Regions from separate parts of the Homo sapiens genome. Here region 1 is linked to region 2. Evidence: promoter capture Hi-C in human tissues and cell types (Jung and others, 2019). All regions are on one chromosome and are shown on one strand. The core of a region is centred on a gene start or on the middle of the fragment in contact, and the rest is flanking DNA. Distances in the headings are between cores, read along the strand shown. Region 1 overlaps LIN52 (lin-52 DREAM MuvB core complex component). Region 2 holds the start of NPC2 (NPC intracellular cholesterol transporter 2).

Region 1 (6,391 bases), core at 684-3,183, 370 kb after region 2:
ATAAAGTCCATGATCATCTTGTAAAAAAAATAAATAAATAAAAATCCATGGCCAAATCCAAGATCATGAAGACTCATACTAAGCATTTTATAATCATCATCCAATTTAACTCTCTCAACAGCTCATTAAGAGGCATTATTATTACCTTAATTTCACAGAAAAGGAAAATGAAACTCAGAGAGAGGTTATTTATCAAGTCAGTAAGTAGAACAGATCTACTTCCAATAACCAGGATCTCTGAAATCCCAGGCTAGTTTTCTTTATACTCACATGGCAATGTGCTTCTCTGGGGGATGAAGGGGAGAACAGAAGCCATGGTCTTTTGGTAACTTAATCTCAGAAGTGGGATTCCATCACTTTTACTATCATTAGGTCCAGCCCACCCTCAAGAGATGATTAAACAAGGGCACACTAGTAGCAGGGATCACTGGGGACCGTCTTAGAGGGTGCCTACCACACCACGGTTCTATATTTAATGCTACACATCCTCCTGGCTTCTCTCATCTATGGCTTTAAATAAAACCTATGGATCAAGGATCCAAATTCCCTGTGCTCTAGTATCTATTCAATTGTCTCCTAGGTATTTATTTCCACCTAGATAGCCTACAGATACACTTATAAATGAACTCCCAAATCTTTCTTCTCAAAGGTCTTCTTCTTCCTATATACACCTAAGCTAGAAACCTAAGAATTGTTCTTGGTTCCTCATTCTTACTGCCCAGGACTTCCCAATCCCAATATATCCAATCAGTCACTAAAACTTTCCATTCTCCTACTAGGATTTATAGAACCCATCCTTTATGCTCCAGTAATATTTCTACTGTCTTAGTTCAAGGGCTTACCATTGTAGTCTAGTTTACTAAAGTAATCTAACTCATCTCCCTGTTGCTATTTTCATTCCTCACCAATCTACCTTCTACCATGTTAGCAAAGTGACCTAAGAATGTAAATATGATCAGATGTCTACCATGCTTAAAATTTCTCATATGCTGCTCATAAGAGTAACAACAGTTAATAGTTTTTAAGAACTTATTAAGATCCAGACAGTGAGCTAAGAGTTTTATAAATAAGGCTGTATCAAATCATCAAAATAATACTCTAAGGCAACAAATCTCAAAGTGTGGTCAGGGAACACCTGCAGATCCTGGGCTCGCCATACTTCTTTTGGGGGTCCACTAGGTCAAAACTGGTTTTTGTTTTTGTTTTTGTTTGTTTGTTTTGTTTTTTTGAGACAGAGTCTCACTCTGTCACCCAGGCTGGAGTGCCGTAGCACATGATCTTGGCTCACTGCAACCTCTGCCTCCCAGGTTCAAGCAATTCTCCTGCCTCAGCCTCCCAAGTATTTGGGATTACAGGTGCCTGCCACCATACCCAGCTAATTTTTATATTTTTAGTAGAGACAGGGTTTCACCATGTTGGTCAGGCTGATCTCAAACTCCTGACCTCAAGTGATCTGCCCATCTTGGCCTCCCAAAGTACTGGGATTACAGGTGTGAGCCACTGCACCCGGACAGGTAAAAATTATTTGTATAATACTAAGATGCTCTTTTCACTCATACTCTCACAAGTGTCCAGTGAAATTTTCTAGAGCCTAAAATATCCTAACATATTTTAAATAAAATAGAAACAAAGAATACTACAATGAATAATCATATACTCTTCACCTGCTCACCAACTGTTAACATTACACACTTGCTTCATCTATTTATATTTTTAAATTTTGTTGTTTTATTCCTGAGCTATCTGAGAGCTAGCTGCAGACACCATGATAGTTCATCCCTAAATACTTCAGCATTGTCTCCTAAGAACAAGGATATTCTCCTACATAGCTACAATATAATTAACAAACTCAAAAAATTTAACACAATACAATTATCTGATTTTCAATCCATAATAAAATATCTCCAATTTGAACATAAGTTTTAAATTTTACTACAGTTCCGTTTAGCAATATTCTCCTTTTTGGTTAATGACACTCCTGTTCTTTTAATTTGGGTTATAATAATGTCAAAGCTGTAGCATCTCAGAAATAAAATACTACATTACTAGTGTGAATTCTTTTCTTCCTCAACCTCTTCTCATGGGAATATGAGAATATTGTTACTGGTTACATGATAAACAAAAATTCCAGTGGAGAAAGTGAAGGTGTGTTTGAGACCAGCCTGTCCAACATGGTGAAACCCCGTCTCCACTAAAAATCCAAAAATTAGCCACGCGTGGTGTGCGCGCCTGTAATCCCAGCTATTCGGGAGGCTGAGGCAGGATAATCACTTGAACCCGGGAGGCAGAGGTTCCAGTGAGTTGAGATGGCGCCACTGCACCCCAGCCTGGGTGACGGAGTGAGACTCCGTCTTAAAAAAAAAAAAAAAAGAAAGTGAAGGTGTGTTTTCCTCTTTCCTTAACTCACTGTTTTCTTGATTTGATGTGTAAGTTTTCTGACAAACTTGTTGAGTGATATATTTTTTAATGTATTACCATCATTATTTGAAAATTTTTGGAAAACCACTTTCCTGGAAAAACCAAAGCATCTTTAACTATTTTCTTTAACTATTTGCTAACTAACTTCGGCACTATGTGATAAAAGCATTTGCAATAATGACTTCACTATTCAGTTGATGCATTAAAGTATCTTAGAATTGGAAAGGAACGAATAAGGAAAATGTTAGTCTCACATTAGTCATTAAAACTTGCATCACTTACTTATGAAATCAATAGATGAAATCTGTTTGTTACATGCATGAAAATCATTATGGCTAGTGGTATAAGAAATATAGAGTAAATCAATAATATAGAATGGAAACAGCAGATCTAAGCAATGGAGAATTGCTGAATAGAGAAAAGTTGTTTGGGTGGGGACAGGGAAACCTCTGGGAATTATATGGGAGCCACTGATTTCTGTTGGGTTATAATGATTTAGGTCAATGCTCTGCTGATAGAATTTACAACTTGACTCCAAGGGGAAAATCTACTGTGTATAGTTTATTTTTAGAAATACTTGTGCCTACTACATGGTTTTTTTTGGAATAGTTTTAAGCTTTTTTTCTTTCTTTGAGACAGAGTCTCCCTGTGTTACCTAGGCTGGACTCAAACTTCTGGGCTCAAATGATCCTCCCACCTCAGCATCCAGAGTAGCTGAAACTACAGGTGCATACCACTGAGCCTGGCTTGAAACTTTTTTTTTTCTTGAGACAGAGTCTCGCTCTGTTGCCCAGGCTGGAATGCAGTGGCTCACTGCAACCTCCTCCTCCTGGGTTCAAGTGATTCTCCTGTCTCAGCCTCCTGAGTAGCTGGGACTACAGGCGCACGCCACCAAGCCCAGCTAATTTTTTTTTTTTTTTTTTGAGAGGGAGTCTCACTCTGTTGCCCAGGCTGGAGTGCAATGGCACGATCTCGGCTCACTGAAACCTCCGCCTCCCAGGTTCAAGCGATTCTCCTGCCTCAACCTCCCGAGTAGCTGGGATTACAGGCACCCACCACCAAGCCCGGCTAATTTTTGTATTTTTAGTAGAGACGGGGTTTCACAATGCTGGCCAGGATGGTCTCGAACTCCTGACCTCAGGTGATCTGCCCACCTCGGCCTCCCAAAGTGCTGGGATTACAGGTGTGAGCTACCACGCCTGGCCTACTTTTTGTATTTTTAGTAGAGACAGTGTTTCACCATATTGGTCAGGCTGGTCTCGAACTCTTGACCTTAGGTGATCCACCGGCCTTGGCCTCCCGAAGTGCTGGGATTACAGGTATGAGCCACTGCGCCTGGCCAAAACTTTTTTAAAGATTTCAAATTTCAACAAATAAAAAGTTGGGGGAAAAAACTCTTTGGTTCATTAAAACATACCATTAAGAAAATTAAAAGGGAAGCTACAAAGTGGAATATTTGCAATTTATGTGACTGACAAAGGGTGGATATCCAGAATATATAAACAGTACTTACAAATCATTTTTTTAAAGACTGATAATCCAAGCCAGGCTCAGTGGCTCATGTCTGTAATCCCAGCACTTTGGGAGGCCGAGGCAGGCGGATCACCCGAGGTCATGAGTTTGAGACCAGCCTGGCCAACATGGTGAAACTCCATCTTTACTAAAAATACAAAAATTAGGCACACGTGGTAGCGTGCACCTGTAATTCCAGCTACTTGGGAGGCTGAGGCAGGAGAATCGCTTGAACCCAGGAGGTAGACATTGCAGTGAGCTGAGATCGTGCCATTGCACTCCAGCCTGGGCGACAAGAGTGAAACTCCATCTAAAAAAAAAAAAAAAAAGAATAATCCAGTAATCCAGTTTTTAAAGATGGGCAATGGGCAAGAGACACTAATAAGGACTTCACAAAAGATGTTATCCAAATGGCCAATAAACATACAAAAAGGTGCTCAACCTCATTAGTCATTAAGGAAATGCAAATTAAAACCACATTAAGATACCATTTATTAGAACGACTAGAAGTTAAAAGACTGAGAATACACCTGTTGGTAAGGACTTGGAGCAACTGAAATTGCTGATAGGTTTGTAAATTGATATAACCACTTTGGAAAACTATTAATATTTGGAAGTACCTACTAAAGCTAAATATACATATACCCCTATGATCTAGCAATTCCACTTCCTAGTTATATATCCAATGAAAATGCATGTACGGCCCAGGTGCGGCGGCTCATGCCTGTAATCCCAGCATTTTGGGAGGCCAAGGCGGGCGGATCACGAGGTCAGGAGATCGAGACCATCCTAGCTAACACAGTGAAACCCTGTCTCTACTAAAAATACAAAAAAAATTAGCTGGGCGTGGTGGGGGGGCGCCTGTAGTCCTAGCTATTCGGGAGGCTGAGGCAGGAGAATGGCATGAACCCAGGAGGCGGAGCTTGCAGTGAGCCAAGATGGTGCCACTGCACTCCAGCCTGGGCAACAGAGCAAGACTCTGTCTCAAAAAAAAAAAAAAAAAAAGAAAGAAAATCCATGTACCAAAAAAAGATATATATCAAAAATACTAACAGTATTTATTTGTAATAACCAAAAGCTGGAAATAGTCCAAATATCCATCATTAGTAGAACGAGGAAATAAATTGTGGTAACTTCTTACAATGAAATACTATATAGCAATGGGAGAAAACCCAAATGATATGGCCGATGTCATAATTTAAACGCTGATCAAAAGTCAGACACAAAAGAGTATGTGATTTGTTATTCCATTTACATAAAGTTCAAAGATAAACAAAATTATTCTATGATAGTATAAGTCACAGTAATGCTTTGAGAGGAAGGGGCAAGTAGGGACTAGAAGGGGCACAAAGGAGATTTTGTATTTATGTACTAGAAAGGTGTTTTGTTTTGAGATAGGGTCTCACTCCTGTCACCCAGGCTGGAGTACAATGGTGTGATCTTGGTTCACTCCAGCCTTGACTTCCCAGGTTCAGGTGATCCTCCCACCTCAGCCTCCCAAGTAGCTGGGACTACAGGTGTACACCAGCAGGCCCGGCTAATTTTTGTATTTTTTGTAGACACTGGATTTTATCATGTTGCCCAGGCTGGTCTGGAATTCCTGAGCTCAAGTGATCTGCCAGCCTCAGCCTCCCAAAGTGCTGGGATCACAGGCATGAGCCACAGCACCAGGCGCAACGTTCTGTATCTTGATCTGTTTTGACCAACGGTTACAGGGGAGTGTTAATTTTATGAAAATCATTGAGTTGTACATTATAATTTGTGTGCTTTTCTTTATATACATTATACTTCAATGTTAAAGCTTATTAAAGAACAAAAAATGATGGGACAGTAGAATATTTTTATATTCTGAATCAGATTGAATTCTCATTTTAGCTCTTTCCTCTTTTTATTTACTTATTTTTTGACACAGGGTCTCACTCTGTCATCCAGACTGGAACGCAGTGGCATGATCATAGCTCACTGCAGTCTCAAACTCCTGGGCTCAGGTGATCCTCCCACCTCAGCCTCCCCAGTAGTTGGAACTACAGGAATTTTCAGCTTGTCCGGCTCTCTTTTCTCTTTTCATTCAATATCCAAAACTTCAACCTATCAGATTCAACTCTCCATTGAAAGGACGTCTTTACCGTTATCCAACCATTCAGTCTTAAACGTGTCCTCCTACAATAGAGTCAGTCAAATACAACTACACCTGAGAAAACAAATCATTACTTCTATTTTATTTTTCAAATTTTTTTTGGTTATACCAAACCGAAAAGTAACAAGCTTTTAGTTTAGACTTAACAGTTAGAGATACTTCTCTTATACATATGCCAAAGTCATTATTTCTCCAGATTTCCTGTGACAAAGTATTTTGTGATCATTTATAAATTCCCATGCATTATCGCTACCTTCCAGATCATATTATCAACACAAACCAGTGGAAAGTACCAGAAAGAAATAAAGAAACGGGCACTACATT
Region 2 (7,161 bases), core at 12-2,511:
ATAACTTAGTTACTTTGATTCAGAACAACAAACCTTTACTGCATCCTCACTGTGAGACGGGCGGTGTTAACCATCCCAGGTAAACCCTTTAAATTTGGAATAAAAGTGCACCTTAAACTGGAGACACTTTTGTCCCTCCTGTACCTCCTTTGGGGGCCCACCCCTTCCTCCTTGCCTGTCGTCGGGGTTGATAACTGTATCCAGTGAAAATTTGTATTGGAATCCGGAGCATCCACCTCCCTCCACTTGCAGCCTGAGGAATTCTGACCCTTCGGTGATTTCCAAAAGCCTCTGAAATGCAGGAAGGGGGATCAAGAATAGCGGGAAACGGGAGTTAAAGGGCTGAGTGAAGAGCAGTTCCCGCTGCTCCCGCCAATCGCCTGGGTACCGCCGCTCCGCGTCCGGCCTCCTACCTGGACGCAACTGTCTGTGAGGCGGATCTGCCCTTCGCCGGCCTCGGGGCTGGAGGACGACGCCTCCCGACGCGCCTGGGGTCCCAGGGAGGCCGTGAGGAGCCTGCGCGCAAGGGAGGAGGGTGAGCCCGGGAGCAGAAGGGGCACCTTGCAACCCTCGACCTGGAGCGCCTCACGCTAAACCTGGCGACCCCCACCTGGACGGCCTCCCACCAAACCCTCGCATCCCCCACAGGCCTTAGTTTCCCATTTGTCCTAGAGGCGCAGAACCAAACACCCTTTCCAGGTGCCTTTCTAGTCTTGGTACCTGCCCCTCGGCCAGGGAGTGACCGCTCTCTGCGTCGCGGCCGTTAGGGACGACCCCCAGGCGGCAGCCATCTTCCTCCACAAGCTCCGCCCCTCGCGTCTCCCCCGTTTCTCACCCGGGGCCTCGGGAGGCGGAGAGAACGAACAGGAGGCCGGGACTTCACGGAGGCCCCGCCCCCCCAACATGCCTATTGGGTAGTGCGGGAGGAGAAGGTGTCTGATTGGCTAGGAATGCTCCAGACGGCAGCGGCGGGGACGCACCCAGGAAGCCGGAGAGGTGCTCTAAAGGGAAGGAACGGGGCGGGGAGGAGTGAGGCGGGGCGGGGCGGAGGTGGGTCCGGGCGGGTCAGGCCTCTGAGGGGATGGCATGGGCGGAGACTGCAGGCTTCTGGGCCTGAGAGGGCTGGAGCTGGCTTTCCGGAGCCGGGGGCGGGGCGCGGGCGGGCCTCAGCTGTGGTTACTGGTGACAGGTCGCCTGACTGGGCTCCTCCCCGGGCCCGCCCCGACAGGTTTGTCTTGTGACCGCGGGCGGCCGCTGCTTCTTTCCCGAGCTTGGAACTTCGTTATCCGCGATGCGTTTCCTGGCAGCTACATTCCTGCTCCTGGCGCTCAGCACCGCTGCCCAGGCCGAACCGGTGCAGTTCAAGGACTGCGGTGAGCCCCAGGCCCGCCCAAGGTTCCCGCGCCCTCTGTGGAAGGCCCCGCCGGACCCCCGCGCTGAGACCCCTGGGGCTGGGCTGGGCGGATCCCTCGGGCGGCCAGGCTGAGCCTTGGACCCTACCTAACTGGAATGGGCTGGGTCGGGGGAGAAGGCGCCGGCCTCCATGAAACCCGACCGCGCACAACTTTGTTTCTTTCCTTAGAACGCGTGTTTTGGGGTTCCTGGGAACTCCAGGAGGTGGGCCTTTTGCTGAAGTTTCCTAAAGTTTGTAGGGCGGACAACAGAAGGGCTGTATCCAGCTCTGGTGGAGGGGTGGAGCACAGAACTTCTTTTTATTTATGCTTTGTATCTTGGAATCCCGCCTCCCCCTTCCAACTCCTTTTGCTTTTCTTTTAATTTCGTTTTTGCTGACAAGTCAAAAGTCAATTCCCCTTTTTCATCATTTATTGTTACAAATAGGACTTCCTTTGGGCTTTGGAATCTTGTGATTCTTAATCAGTTTTTCCTTGTATAAATCTCATTGTGTCTCTAATCACAGCTTGTGATACATAACTCCCTCTCGCCGCTGTGGTTGGAATCTTTGTTGGAAAATACAACAGGTGGTAGAAATTCTGAGTGCCTTCATTGAGTCGAGTCTATAGAATTGTCGGAACAGAAACTCGAGCAATGTTGTTCAGAGGTGGAGATAGAGAGATAGAACTGTCAATGAAAGAGGCATGAAACTGACTTTGTAAGATCTATGAGTGGAAAGGAAGCACGGAGATCGTATAATCAATCATTGAATTCCAGGGATGTTGGGTAGCCTACCTAAAGTCACGCAGCAGAATGGGGAGCCAGAGTAAGTGTAACCGCCCAAGGGGTTCACCTTGCGCATTGCCTAGACAGAGCGGATTTATCAAGATGGGATTTGCAGTGGCGAAAAGAGTAATTCACGCAGAGCCGGCTGTGGGGGAGGCCGGAGTTTTATTGTTACTCAGATCAGTCTCCCCGAGCATTCGGGGATCAGAGTTTTTAAGGATAATTTGGCGGGTATGGGCTTGGAAAGTGGGGAGTGCTGATTGGTCAGGTTGAAGATAAAATCATAGGAGAGTCGAAGTGAGTTCTTCTTGCTGACCTCTGGGTGGTGTCATTTGCTGCATCGGAATGCAGGATCTGCAAAATATCTCAAGCACTGACCTTAGGTTTTACAATAGTGATATCATTACCAGGAGCAATTTGGGGAGGTTCAGACTCTTACAGCCAGAGGCGGCGTGGCCCCTAAACTCGTAGCTAATTTGTTAGTCCTACAAAGGCAGACCGGTCCCCAGGCAAGAAGGGGTTTTTCAGGAAAGGGCTATTATCCATTTCGTTTCAGAGTTTAAACTATAAATTCCTCTCCAAGACTAGTTCAGCCTACACCCAGGAATGAACAAAGACAGTTTAGAGGTTAGAAGGAAGATGGGTAGGTGAGTCCTGATCTCTTTCACTGTCTTAATTTCCTCAGGATTTTTGCAAAGGCGGTTTCATAAGTTTGCTGCTTTATATCCAGTGCCCAGGTAATAGTAACTGCTCAATGAAATGTGTTGAAAACATAGATGGAAATCTTTTTCCCCTATGTCATAAAAATTCATGTTGAGACAAAAGCAAAGTTGGGGATTAGGGGACAGGATTGATTAAGGAATGGAGTGCTGGCCGATTAACACTTAAATGCTATTCCATTGATTTAGGAGACTGGCACTTGAAAGCTATTATCGCTTCAAATTACTGCCTTTCCCTCCATTAAACTTAGTAGCCAGCGTTTGGATGAAGACACTATTAATTTTAATAACTCATTCCGGCCAGGCACAGTGGCTCACACCTGTAATCCCAGCACTTTGGGAGGCCAAGACGGGCAGATCACGAGGTCAAGAGATTGAGACCATCCTGGCCAACATGGTGAAACCCCATCTCTACTAAAAATACAAAAATTAGCTGGGCATGGTAGTGTGCACCTGTAGTCCCAGCTACTCGGGAGGCTGAGGCAGGAGAATCGCTTGAACCCGGGAGGTGGAGGTTACAGTGAGCCAAGATCACGCCACTGCACTCCAGCCTGGCGACAGAGCAAGACTCCGTCTCAAAAAAATAAAATAAAATAAAATAACTCATTCCATCCTCACAAGCTGTCTTACAGATGAGGAAAGCGAAGCACATAGAGTAACTTGCCCAAGATCTCACACCCAGTAAGTGGTAGGAAACCGTGGGTCTTTGTGAGCCACTTTGGGTTTCCAAAAAAAGAAGGGAAATAAATCCAGAAATTATTCTACTTATTTGAAAAAGCAGGAGTACACCTATGGGAAGAAGCTTTTAAAGGGAAGAAGGGTTTCAGTTACAGATTTATAATTTACTTTTGAATTGGGAAATATGATATAAAGACTTCAGTGCCCACATCAAAGATTTTTGTGTTCCACTCTACACCCACCTTCCCTGGCGTGGGATTTCCTCAAGTGAGAAAGTGGACCAAGCAAACTAATTTTGTAATGTTTGCTGGTTAGAACAGAGGAGTTTGTTCTATTGACACTGGAAGTCTAAGAACCTCTTGTCATCAGAAAACTGGATGAAAGAGCTATAAGTACTACCCTTTACTTACTTCCTACTAGATTATGTGACTCAGCCTTGAAAGAAGCAGGTGGAAGCTGGACATTGAAAGCCTTAACATTAGCACTGATTTTCAATAGATTGTTGATTGAAGTTCGGGATTTCTTTTTTCCCTATTCACCAAAAATGGGTTGGAGTGGAAGAGAGTGTTTCTCAAACTGTTTTGGATGCTTAAGAGTGTGTGCAGTTTAAGAACTTTGCAATGATGGAGAAGCAAGCTGAGGGATAAAGGACTGCAAGGTACTATTTACTGACCTAGCTGGAGCAGTGTTGGTCAGTGTGATGATAGTTAAAGAGACTGTTCCACCCAAGGGTAGGTACAGGCAGCAAAGAACATCTACTTAGATTTCTGAGTTCATATCATACTTTTATAGTACTGAGCTAATCTGGTGACTGACTGCATAGCAGATAATGTACTCTCAACCTGCAGTTTGCCTCTGTCTTCATGCATTCCACTTTTGAGACAGAAAGAGTCCATCCTATTGGCTAGAAACATAATTTCTATCCACAAAGTATATTTGAGGTGAGAGGTCCAGTTTTTGTGTCAGAAGGGAACTTGCTAACCTACCCAGGAGCAGCTATTCTAGATTAAACTCATGGACTAAATCCAGATATGATAATAATAGTAAATATATGTATCACTATGTTCCAAACACTTACCTAAGATCTGTATTTGTGTTAGCTCAGCTACACCATTATCTCCAGAGAGGTAAAGTATCTTGCCTTGAGGCTATACAGTAAGTAGCAGAGATAGTGAGATTTCAAACCCAGGCATCCGGCACCAGAGTCTGCCTCTCAGCAATGATGGCTGAATGGCAGAACTTAACTTACCCTGTTACAGGCACTGTTATCAGGCAGTTCACCTGCATTCTCTCCCATTCAACTGCCCAGTCTCTGGGGCAGGAGGAAATGGGATTTTTAAAGGCTTTATTTAAACCTTTTTTGGTCAAGCATTTATTGTATACAAGTACTTTTGTCCTTGGTTAGACTGAGATTAAAATACATACATACACACACAGACACACACACACACACTTATTTTAAGAACGCAGGTTCCCAAAATCGAGTATACATCTGTAGATTGCAGATGTGTGCTTAAAATCAGTTTTTGAAACTACTTAGAAACAACCTGGACAAGTCAGATGAATCCAATTTCTTTTCTTAAATTTTTTAATTTTGAAAAATATGTATTTGTTTTGAGGATTCCCAGGGATAAATCCTATTTCTGACTCTTTCTAGTACCTTCTTAGGTCTCATCCTTATGTTTTTAACATATGCAGTATTTGCAAGTGTATCATTCCCAGCAGCTATATAGACCTAGGCCAAGTTAATATTTCAGAGGAAATGAAACCCAGACTCAGGTAGCAGTATTCTTCTTTAATGCAGCTGGCACTTCTGCCATCTTGGCTGTGTGAGTCAGTGCTATTTGGAGTTAAGCTTAACTTGTGCCCTAAGCTTGTACTGAAACTATAAAGACCTTAACCTCTGTACTCCTCTTCATCCCCTTGATTCTTGGAAAAAATCCAGATCTTAACAACCTTAGTCAAGATTTAAGGTACTTCCTGTTGTTTTTGGAGCCAAAATATTTCATGACTCATAAGTGGGCCTTAAAGAACAGGACTAAATCATTGAAGAAACTGCAGAAGTGCAGTGAAAATGGTGCAGTTCCCAATTCAGAAGTGGGAGGTAGTTCCTCTCTTAAGGGTCATTCCTAGTTCAGAGATGGTAGGTGGTTTTTCTGTTTAGGGTCACTCCTCTGTTCAGTGTTAAGTGGTAGTTCCTCTTAAATTCCATAGTCTGCTTACTCGGAAGTGAGTAGGCTTCTGGAATCAGTCTTATTTTATTTTATTTTATTTTTTGAGACAGAGTCTTGCTCTGTCACCCAGGCTGGAGTGCAGTGGCGCAATCTCGGCTCACTGCAACCTCTGCCTCCCCAGTTCAAGCGATTCTCCTGCCTCAGCCTCCTGAGTAGCTGGGATTACAGGTGAGCACCACCATACCTGGCTAATTTTTGTATTTTTATTAGAGACGAGGTTTCACCATGTTGGTCAGGCTGGTCTCGAACTCTTAACCTCTTGATCCACCTGCCTTGGCCTCCCAAAGTGCTGGGATTATAGGCATGAGCCACCATGCCCACCCTTGAATCAGCCTAATTTTAAAAGCCAAGACTGATATTCTGACACTTTTCATCGTTTTACCTATACCTTTAATAGTGCTGCTTATTTCTCTAGGAAGTCAAGTTGGGGTGAAAGAAAGAAGGGATTCCAGGAAGACAAAATACTGGGCAAAGGATTTACCAGCAGTTTGGGAGAAAGGGTACAAAATCTGGATAGAAGATACTTCATCACTGAAAATCACAGAGGATATAGGGGTTGAACCTCTACGATAGAAAGAGAATCATGGTGAGGGGCAAAGAGGCGATGCTGAATTAAGAAACCTGAAAAGTTGAGTTTGAGACAGACCTTCATCCAGAGTCCTCAAGTAGTTCTCAGATGCAAATTTCCTTGGGGTGTCCTTCCATTCATCAACATGGCTGCGTATTTAAAGCTTCTTTCAGGTTCCGGTAACAAGGGCTTCCAAGTCAGGCCCACCCATTGAGTCTTCGATCTGCCCCTTCCAGGCAATGTGACCTTGGACAAATCTCAGTAATCTTTGCTCTTCTGGTTTCTAACCCCTAAAACAAGGATGATAAATACCATTGTTGTGAGATGTTTTCTTCAGATGCCTCTGCTTTCCTTCATTCTTGCTAGTCAAGGTACAATTTCCATAGAGTCTAAAAATGAATGATTCAGGAACTAAAAACTCTTGAAGCCAGATTCAAGAAAGGTTCAGTCTGTTTTGGGATCTGGCAGACTTTCCAAGCAATAATAGCAGACTCCCTCAATCAGTGTTTGCTCATGTAGAACTTGAGGTAGAAAGATGTTGTAATTCATTTCTGATCTTCCTCCGCGGAGTTTCAGGCTCTACATTTGCTTTCTAGCTGTTTCCGCATAAAGTGCGGTTTTTGGCCAGGTGCGGTGGCTCATGCCTGTAATCCCAGGACTTTGGGAGGCCAAGGTGGGCAAATTGCTTGAGCCTAGGAGTTTGAGACCAGCCTGGGCAACATGGTGAAACCCTGTCTCTACAAAACACAAAAATTAGCCGGGTGTGGTGGTGCATGCCTATTGT

Evidence for each region. The method cuts DNA at HindIII sites, captures the fragments that hold promoters and counts their contacts. A contact is called where the count stands out against the background at its distance.
Region 1: a contact is called between a fragment that was not itself captured here and the fragment with the promoter of NPC2 in region 2, in 1 of the 25 tissues and cell types used here (hippocampus).

What each region holds. Positions count from the first base shown.
Region 1 is chr14:74,117,705-74,124,095 of GRCh38, reverse strand. The region is part of intron 5 of LIN52 (lin-52 DREAM MuvB core complex component); the gene reads right to left. All of the region lies in intron 1 of LOC105370563 (a long non-coding RNA gene), which reads left to right. Among named protein-coding and RNA genes, the nearest start is that of LIN52, 36 kb to the right of the region's middle. The HindIII fragment of the contact is 4,900 bases long and covers 1-4,383 here.
Region 2 is chr14:74,487,405-74,494,565 of GRCh38, reverse strand. It overlaps NPC2 (NPC intracellular cholesterol transporter 2), which reads left to right and starts at 1,261. Exons shown (of 5, transcript NM_006432.5): 1 at 1,261-1,373. The coding sequence starts at 1,292. It overlaps ISCA2 (iron-sulfur cluster assembly 2), which reads right to left and starts at 801. Exons shown (of 4, transcript NM_194279.4): 1 at 721-801; 2 at 414-516; 3 at 176-291. The coding sequence starts at 791. RefSeq lists enhancers at 719-798, 5,577-6,776 and silencers at 999-1,278, 1,449-1,508. The HindIII fragment of the contact is 6,262 bases long and covers 1-4,565 here.